Regions from separate parts of the Homo sapiens genome. Here regions 1 and 2 are each linked to region 3. The links are contacts of gene promoters, found by promoter capture Hi-C in blood cells and fetal thymus (Javierre and others, 2016). All regions are on one chromosome and are shown on one strand. Each heading gives the region's core, a stretch centred on a gene start or on the middle of the fragment in contact. The rest is flanking DNA. Distances are from core to core; before and after follow the strand shown. Region 1 overlaps IPMK (inositol polyphosphate multikinase). Region 2 overlaps IPMK (inositol polyphosphate multikinase). Region 3 holds the start of TFAM (transcription factor A, mitochondrial).

The links. Contacts are between HindIII fragments. The CHiCAGO score rates a contact against its expected background, and 5 or more counts as called.
Region 1: a fragment that was not itself captured here is called in contact with the fragment with the promoter of TFAM in region 3 in 4 of 17 cell types (neutrophils, monocytes, activated CD4 T cells and 1 more); the score reaches 10.4 in neutrophils.
Region 2: a contact is called between a fragment that was not itself captured here and the fragment with the promoter of TFAM in region 3, in 2 of 17 cell types (monocytes and neutrophils). The highest score is 7.1, in monocytes.

Annotation. Positions count from the first base shown.
Region 1 is chr10:58,239,404-58,242,587 of GRCh38, reverse strand. All of the region lies in intron 1 of IPMK (inositol polyphosphate multikinase), which reads left to right. Among named protein-coding and RNA genes, the nearest start is that of IPMK, 27 kb to the left of the region's middle. The HindIII fragment of the contact is 3,191 bases long and covers 14-3,184 here.
Region 2 is chr10:58,219,768-58,223,051 of GRCh38, reverse strand. All of the region lies in intron 3 of IPMK (inositol polyphosphate multikinase), which reads left to right. Among named protein-coding and RNA genes, the nearest start is that of IPMK, 46 kb to the left of the region's middle. The HindIII fragment of the contact is 2,444 bases long and covers 520-2,963 here.
Region 3 is chr10:58,384,160-58,387,140 of GRCh38, reverse strand. TFAM (transcription factor A, mitochondrial) reads right to left here and starts at 1,731. Exons shown (of 7, transcript NM_003201.3): 1 at 1,493-1,731; 2 at 803-921. The coding sequence starts at 1,593. RefSeq lists enhancers at 1,331-1,987, 2,181-2,280 and a silencer at 1,671-2,050. The HindIII fragment of the contact is 8,486 bases long and covers 1-2,981 here.

The DNA of each region.
Region 1 (3,184 bases), core at 360-2,859, 140 kb after region 3:
CCTGTAGAAAGCTTTCTTCATCTCTGTTATACCATGTATTTTATTTCTACTATTTCCACTAAGTTCTTAAAGTTTCTCTCTGATGGACACACTTGTCTTTTGTTTTCTTTTCTTTTTTTTTTTTTTTTGAGACGGAGTCTCGCTCTGTCGCCCAGGCTGGAGTGCAGTGGCACAATCGCGACTCGCTGCAACCCCTACCGCCTGGGTTCACGCCATTCTCCTGCCTCAGCCTCCCGAGTAGCTGAGACTACAGGCGTCCGCCACAACGCCTGGCTAATTTTTTTATGTATTTTTAGTAGAGATGGGGTTTCACCATGTTAGCCAAGATGGTCTCGATCTCCTTACCTCGTGATGTCTTTTCATCCATGTTGTGTACTTTTTCTATTACAGCTTTAACATATTAATTATGGTTAAGTTCCCCTGTCTGATTATTTTAACATCACTGTCATTTCTGATACTGGTCTGTATTTTGCTGTATTTGTTGACGGTATTATTTTCCTTGCTTTTTTATCTGTTGTAATTTTTATTAAATTCTGGTGGGCATCATGTGTAGGACTGTAGCAAACTGAAGCCAACAGTATTTGTTACTGAAATGATTATACCTCTTCTGCTTGACTGGTAATGTTGGTGATTTGAACCAATCTAATGAGGAGTTGAGATAAATGTAAGTATTGTTGTTATAGTTGGTTTCTGTTATGGACTGAGTGTTTGTGTCCTTTAAAATTCATATGTTGAAGCCCCCCTCCCCTGTAAATGTAATCATATTTGGAGATTGCACCTTTATGGAGGTAATTAAGGTTAAATGAGGTCATAAGGGTTAAGTCTTGAACCAACAGAATGTATCATTATAAGAAAAGGCACTAGAGAGTTAGCTGTCTGCCATGTGAGAACACAGTGAGAAGGTGACCTTCTACAAGCTAAGAGAGTCCATACTAGGAACCAAATCTCCCAGCACCTTGGTCTGGGACTTCTAGCCTTCAGAAATATGGAAAAATAAATTTCTGTGGTTTAAGCTGCTCAGTCTATGGCATTTTGTTATGCAAACCCTGGCTGACTAAAATACTGTCAGTGCACCACAGATTTGAAATTCTGCTAGTGTCGTCTTTTGTTTAGGGTGGGTCTGATTTGCCAGAGGATTTTTCTCAGTATTTCTGTTTAACTGTCTACTTTAGGTCTTCTTTGTGCACCTAGGCCTCAGAGGTGGTTTTCTCTATGTTCGTGCCCCTCCCGCAAATGTAGATTACTATTATTTTTTACTTGGTGATAGCTACCCTGGTGCTAGGCTGCAGAGGTATCCTCTATTGTCTTGGCCCAGATTCAATGTTAGGTAGGCTCTGTGATCCTAAGTTTTGGGGAATGGGACTTGTTCAGGTATCCTGCCCCTCTTTCCTGTAGAAGTCAGACTGCCTTCTGCCTTCAGCAAGTCGTTTGTATGAGTTTCCTTCCCACCCCCAGCAGTAGGAGACCTCTAAAGTTAGGACTGCATATGATTTCCTGTCTTCCTTCACCCTCCCAGTGTTGGAGAATATTTTTCTTTATTCTTCTGCCATCCACAATGGCTTGTCACTTGTTTCTTGGGGACAACATGATTTGCTGCTCTTACCTCAACAACTTAAGACTTTTGATCCAGAGGGGAAAAGGGTCTTTTTTAGTAGTGGTGCTTCACTTCCTTAATGCCTGTACCTCTGATGGTCACTTTTTCTGGCTTTCTGCCTCTCTCCAGTCTTTTTCTTGACGGCCTGGAAGAAAATGCTGCAAGTGTTTGCAACTTCTGGGAGTTCTATACCCTCACTGGAATCTACACTTTGCCATTAGCTATTTGTTAAAAATTTTAGCTTTATTATTCTAACCCCCTTGTAAGGTAACCCCACCTTCCCATTCCGCTCCATGGGTGAGTCAGTGCTCTCATTTGTCTTTTTTTTTTTTTTTTCGTGGTGTATGTCTTCCTTTAGATTTCAAGTCTGTTGGTTATTATCTCAACACTTTGATGGTTTCGTGAAAAGTTATGATTTTGTAGATTATCTAGCTTTTTCTTGCTTTTAGGTGGGAGCAATGCTTCTTCCAGCTTTCTATATCCTAGGTGGAAACTTGAAAGCCCAGAATTTTTTCTCTGGCCCATTCTCTTTTCTCTTTATGGGACCCCAACTACACATTTGTTAAAAACTCTTGGTATTACCTTATGGGTTTCTAATGCTCTATACATTTTTTTTTTCTTTTTAGATACTTTTCTGTATTTTCTTTAATTTAGATATTTTGTATTGGTCTTTGTGAATGTTCATTGCTCTGTTCCTCTGTGATTGTTTATCTGTTGATTAAATCCCATTAATTAAATTTTTTATTTCAGATACTGTGCCTTTTCAGTTTTAGAGTTTTTTTTTGTAGTTTATCTCCTGAAATACCTAATCTGTTTAGCATTTGCATTCATCTTTTTCTATTGTTTCTTTAGCATATTTATACTTTTTGTTTTAACATGCTTGCTTGCTAATTACAATGACTTGGTCATCTGTGTGTCATCTCCTATTATGTTTTCTCTTGATTGTGCTTTATGTTTTCCTGATATTTTGAGTATGTGTCATAATTTTTTCTTGAATCTAGGGCATTTTATTTAAAGAACCGTGGGAAGTGATGTGTACTATTTTTTGTTTTGTTTTGATCCCCCGTGCAGTACATGCCCTTTCCTGTGTTTAGGGTAAGGGACTGAGTTTAGTTGAGCTAGTGCTAGGCTGCAGTCTCAGTTTCAGTGTATCTGTTATTGGCTCAGCATTCCAAGGTGCCTCCTTTTTTATCTTGACAGTTTTTGAGCTGGGGGTGGGGATTTGGTTGCAGGCTCAGATACTGTTGGTTTACTGTTGGTTTATTTGGATCCTGGAATTCACTCACCTAGAGAATGCCGAGATTACCACCTTCTGTCTTCTCAAACGTGAGGGGTTATGTTGCAGGGTGAGTAATATGGGAGACATATTGGACGAAGCAATCTCTTTTTGTGTTGGGATTATTACAGTCTCTAATCCATCCTGCTATCCCATGCTGTTGTCTACCGCTTGGCTGATTACTGCTTGCCTGATAAAATGTATTTGTCTAATGGGAAGATCACCTGTATCTAGACCAAGGTGTTTGCCCCAAGGCAGGGAAGCTGTCATGGTTCTCTGCTTACTTATGAAAGTTCAATTTTTATTTTCCTCTG
Region 2 (3,284 bases), core at 492-2,991, 160 kb after region 3:
TGTACACTGTACCCAGTGTGTAGTCTTTTATCCCTCACCCACCTTCCGCCTTTTCCCCGGAATCCCCAAAGTCCATTGTATTGTTCTTATGCCTTTGCATCCTCAAAGTTTAGCTCCCACTTATGAGTGAGAACATATGATGTTTGGTTTTCCATTCCTGAGTTACTTCACTTAATATAATCTCATACTATCATCAGCATCATGAAATACATAAATATTTTGGGCATGAAAACAATATCCTTGGTAAAGCCACAGAGTGATCTTATGTAGTCTACTTAAAACAGCAGGAAGTGTTATATTTCTGAACACGTGGTATTTTCATGATCTTTACCTCAGAAAAATTAAGGCACTATAGAAATTCTTTATATACTTTCTATAAATTAATAAGTGATAGGTTATTAGCCATAGCCTCTTAAATGTAGCTTTATTTCTAAACATAGTTACCTCTTGAAATGAACTCCACATATTTATGAAGAGTAGATATCCTTTTATTTATTATACAAGTACCAGCACTAAGCTTTACAGACTCTCTGTCTTAGATCTGGGGTTTACAAGTGCCAGTCCTTAGACTTCTGCAGGACTCACTTCATAAGAGTCCTAAATAGAGTTTCCAGAGTTATAAAAGTAAATCTAGTTAATTGTGCTATCTTTATGATACACACACGTCTATGAGAGGTATATAGATATGTAAAATTAAGCTCTATTCTAATATTCAAAATTCTGCCTTTACTTGTAAACTACATCATGTGAAATACTCATAATTATTTTACAAGATATTTTCCAATCATCATATTAATATAGCCTAATTTATATTCTTGACCTTGAACAGAGTGAACTTAAACTATTCCAGATAGAACACATCTATCTTACCAGGCACATTGGCTCTCACCTGTAATCCCAGCACTTTGGGAGGCGAAGGTAGGAGGATTGCTTAAGGCAGGAGTTCAAGACCAGCCTGGGCAACATAACAAGACTCTATATCTACAATAAATTTTAAAAATTAGGCCAGGTGCAGTGGCTAATGCCTGTAATCCCAGCACTTTAGGAGGCTGAGGCGGGTGGATCACCTGAGGTCAGGAGTTCAAGACTAGCCTGGCCAACATGGTGAAACCCTGTCTCTACTAAAAATACAAAAATTAGCTGGGCATGGTGGTAGGCACCTGTAGTCCCAGCTACTCAGGAGGCTGAGGCAGCAGAATTGCTTGAACCCAGGAGGTGGAGGTTGCAGTGAGCCAAGATCACACCACTGCACTCCAGCCTGGGCGACAGAGAGAGACCCTGTTTCAAAAATAAAATAAAGAGAAAAGAAAAGAAAAAAAATAAAAATTAGCTGGGTGTGGTGACATGCACCTGTAGTCCCAGCTACTCAGGAGGCTGCAGCGAGAGGATCACTTTAGCCCAGGAGTTTGAGGTTGCAGTGAGCCATGATTGTACTGCTATACTCCATCCTGGGTGACAGAGTAAGACCCTGTCTCAAACAACAATAACAACAGAAATCTATCTTATTTTTAGTTCATTATATTTTTTTGGATCAGTCTTAGAACAAATTTCTTATTTGCTGTCATCTTTTTTATGTTATTATTGCATCAAAGAAAACCTAGCTGTAGTAATCTTTACTGTAGTAATCTTTACTATCTATAACCTTGACTAATCTGTAGCTTTTTCTTCAGAATTTAAAAAAAAAAAAATAGGCAAGCTGAGCTTATGGATGATGGGGGAAGGAAGGATGAAATAGTAGTCTCAGAGGATGGAAAAGTGAGGAGATTTGGGAAACAGATCATGATAGTTGAGCAACTTTAAGGGCATACTTGAGGTTAGTGGTCAGATTGAGTGTGTTTTGCAGTCATGACACATGCAAAAGAGAGTTACTTTAACTTGAGGTGAAATCAATATGTAATAAGTAGGTTTATTACATATAAGTATTCTTTTTAATATAACTAAAGGCTAAGGCTTGATATTAGCCTGAGGGTTGGAGAATATCCATTATCAAGTGCATAATTGAGTTATGAATACATCTTTTAATTTTGTGTGTATTATGCTTGTCTCATCTGGAAGGGTAAGAATAGACTCCAGGGAATCATCTTCTATTTTTATTTATACTGAATATCAAAGTTAGACCTGTACTCATTGGTGACCTAACATGGTTAGCAGGTTTTAATACTTATCAGTGACTTACTTGTTTAATATTTATATATACTTAGAGGTAAAATGAATAAATATTCAGTGAGTACCAAATACGTAGCAGCAATTATGCTAAGTGTAATGCGATTTCAACTCTTCAAAAGCAGCTCTATGAAGGCAGGTTTTTATCTGTTTTCTTCACCTGTGTGCCTTGACAGTAATTATATATGGAATGTATGAAATTTTATTTTGGAGGGGATATGGGAATGTGTAACCTGCATTTATGGGATGAGGACTGACACTATGCTAAGTGCTTTACTGTATATTATCTCATTTAGTCTTCTTAATATCCCTGTGGTAGAGTCTGTAATTATCTGCATTTTACATATAATTGAGGTTTTGAGAAGTGCTCCTGAGGTCACAGGCTAGCAAATTATAGAGTTGAGATTTGAGCCTCCTTTTTCTTCTTCTAAAGCAGTTGCTTTAAACTTTATCATCTCAGTTAAGATTCTTTGGGCACAAGTTATGGAAATGAACTTGAACATGATTAAGCAACAAGGAAAAGTTCTTATAAGGATATGAGGGTGTCTTATGAAAGCCAAGGGCCATGCATCTGAGTCTAAGATGGGACTGGAACTAGAATCTGAACCCTATCAAAGCCCAGGGAGATCTCTCTCTGCATATTTACTTAACCCTTCCTCTTCTCTCCTCTGCCTTCCTTGCTATCCACACCTCTCCCCTCCCTACCAAGGGACTTACATGTTACAGTACCAGTCACCCACAGAGGTCAGCAACAGGTTTTCTCTGCATTCCATTTCCAAATTGGCAAGACTGACCAAGCTTGTATCAGATATTTGCTCCTGCCCCAGTCAGTGACTGTGGGCCATGGGCTGGATTCCCAAAGTATGATGGTGTTGGCAAAGGGACCACTTCTGTAGGACTGAGGATAGTTCTTGAGCTGGGCAGACATGCTAATGACAGAGTGACATTCTATCTAGTCAAGTGTTTTTAAAACTTCTTTGTCTAAAAGGAAAAAAACAAGAAAACACTGGGCCTTTAGGGCATGGGGGGAATAAACTTCTTTGTCTATGATACGTAATAAATACATTTTTACATTGCAACTCAATGTTTATAAGACAGACCAACCCAGACAACAATACTTA
Region 3 (2,981 bases), core at 482-2,981:
CAGGCACTGCGCCCCCATGCCCACCTCATTTTTGTATTTTTGGTAGAGACAGGATTTCCATGTTTCCCAGGCTGTTCTCGAACTCCTGGGCTCAAGCAATCCACCCATCTCGACCTCCCGAAGTGCTGGGATTACAGGTGTGAACCACCTCACCCAGCCTGATGTGAGCATTTTTTATTCTCGCCGAGAGGCTTTCTAGAGAGTCAACAAACATCCTACCTGGAAATGTTTTTTTTTTAGGAACCCAAGACAAGAAAGGATTTATCCTTTACAACCCACCATCCCCTTGGCAAGGTCGAGGTCTGAATCAAAGAACCAGAGTGGCTCTGAACTCCTATGATGAAAAGGTTTATCCTTTCTTATCTTGAAAGCTCTTGAAATTAGCAGTAAATTGCATAGAACTTTACAGTTCTACAGAACTTACAGTTTATGGATGCTTCCACAGAAGTTGCAACTTTATTAACAATTCCCTGAGCCAGAAAAAGGAGGAGCTAGGCAAGAGAAAATAATTCATCAGTGGTCCTCTAGACCAAAGGCAACAAGGCCCCAAATTCAGCTTTTTTATCCTCTTCCTAGGGTGCTTTCTACACTATACGTTATTTTTAAAATACCATTTACTAGTTCTCATTTATATTTAAAGCATTTCCATTTGGTATAAAATAGAACTTCCTATTTTACAGACATCAAATGATTGTTCCTGCAGTCACTGAATGCTTTAGCACTGCAATTCAACATTGGTATTTAACTGCTTAATGGCATTTTTATTACATGAGAAAAGGGTATATGCCCCAAAACTCCTTACCTGGGTTCTGAGCTTTAAATATGGGTAGTTGTTCTTTAGAAAATCGAAGGTAAGAACTTACAGGTTTCTTTGGACAACTTGCCAAGACAGATGAAAACCACCTCGGTAAATACACAAAACTACATATAAACAAAAAGAAAATAACCAGTGTCAGATGTTTAACTGTCAATATTCACATGTATATGAACACAGATCCCAAATAAGAAATGTCATCAAGATACTATGTATCCAACGCCTTCAACAAGAATGCTAGAGACTTATTAAAACCCTGTCCTAAACGGAGGGGAGCGTCTGCAGGACTGAAGTCTCAAAGCCCTTACCTCCTAGGAAGGGCAGGGAGTGAAGGAAAGCGTCTATACTCCAGCTCCTGGGCCCCGCCTCCTCAATGCCTAGATGATGGCCGGAGACTCGGCGCGAATTCGCAGAGGAGGCGGAAAGGATCCAAAGCTGGACAGTGAGGAGGGATGGGAGAAGCGAGTGGAGGGTAGCAAGAAGGTACGGCGTATTAAGAGAGTAAATAAAGGCCTGGTCTCAAGGCCACCGTCCCCTTGGCAAGGTCGCGGTCTGAATCAAAGAACCAGGGTGACTCTGAACTCCTAGGAGGGGCAGAAAGTGAAGGATAGGGTCTACATTCCAACCCCGGGACGTCCTGGGCCCTGCTGCCCCTAGGGCACAGGCAAGCGGGCCTACCTGAAGGGGGAGCGCAGTCGACTTCCACAGCCGGTGCACAGCTCTGCTCCAGACCTTCCCAGGGCACTCAGCACGCCCCACATGCTTCGGAGAAACGCCATCGCTCCGGTGGATGAGGCAGTGACCCGACCCCAATCTCGGAGAGCCTCCTGGCAATACACAACTCCAGCAATCACAACTGGAACCCGCGTGCGACCCTCCGGCGTGTGTTATCATGCCCGCCACTAGCGAGGCACTATGGGAAATCTGCTAACATCCGGTCGGTAGATGGGGGCGGGGCGGGGCGGAATTGGCGCAGGCGCGGGAGAGCGTACCCCGGTGGGCGGCCTTGCGGGGGAGGAATAAGAGCCGCGGAGATGAAGGGAAACCGCAATCCTCTAGCCTGCGGAGGGCTCTGGCTTCGAGGCGGCGCTGTTGAGCCACCTCTGTCCCCGGCCGCCCGGAGCAGTGGGTTCCTCTGCCGGGCCAGGAGGGTGATGGAGGGACCGCGGCGGCGGCCTCACCCCAACCCGGCGTTGGCCGGTGTCCGCCCGTGACGGTCACAAGGGCTGTACGTAACAGACAGTCCTGCATCCAGGACCCCGAGGTCCGATCGGCGGCTGCTGCGCGCCCAGCGGAGCGTCTCAGTTCAAGCCAGGGCTGGAGCTCGGAGTTCAGAAATAGTAACGGGAGAGGCGGGGATTCGCAAACCTAAAAATGCAGATTCCAAGGCCTTACCGCAGAGCTTAATTCCGTGTGTCTATGTGGGGCCCATTAATCTTCATTTTAGCGAGTTCCCCAGAATTTAACAAGTTCTAATGTCGGTGGTCTTGAGACCACATTTAAAGCAATATAGCTTTAGACTGTTTATTCTACCATCTACTGCAGTCTTTCAGTCTGGCCTCCAGCTTGCTTAATTTGAGCAGAGGAAACTGGCTAGTTGTCCACAGTCGCTAGTCTCAATTCTTCTAGTTCCAGTATTAACATTAACGTCTTGACTTGGGAATATTGCATTCCCTCGTTAAGATTCAGTTTCCCCCTCTGCAAACGAGGATGTTAGACTAAATCAGTTTTCCCAGCCAAAGCCCTGAGAACGTGTGACAAGTATGCCTTGAGACATTGATGTGTCAAAAATTGCTGTATAATTTTTTTATTTGTGTTATAGAAATACCATTTTCTGTATAGGCAATGGCATGAAAAAGATTAGGAAGACCTAAAGATACCTAAGGGTCCTTCCAGCCCTTAAATACCAGTTGTTTCAGAGCTAACCACCTTCTGAGACAGCCTTTCTTCTGTTGGATAGCCGTAATTGTTAGAAAATTCTTACCAGTGTCATATTGAGCTGACAGTCTATTTACCTTTCTGTAACTATGAAAACATTGGCTCTCTGGAAGTAGGACTAAGCCTACTTCTTCTTTTAAGCGGTAATAACCACTTCCCTTTTATAGACTCCCAGGGTTGAAAGGGACCTTCCAAGTCATCTGTTCAAACCTCCCATTCTGGCATGGAA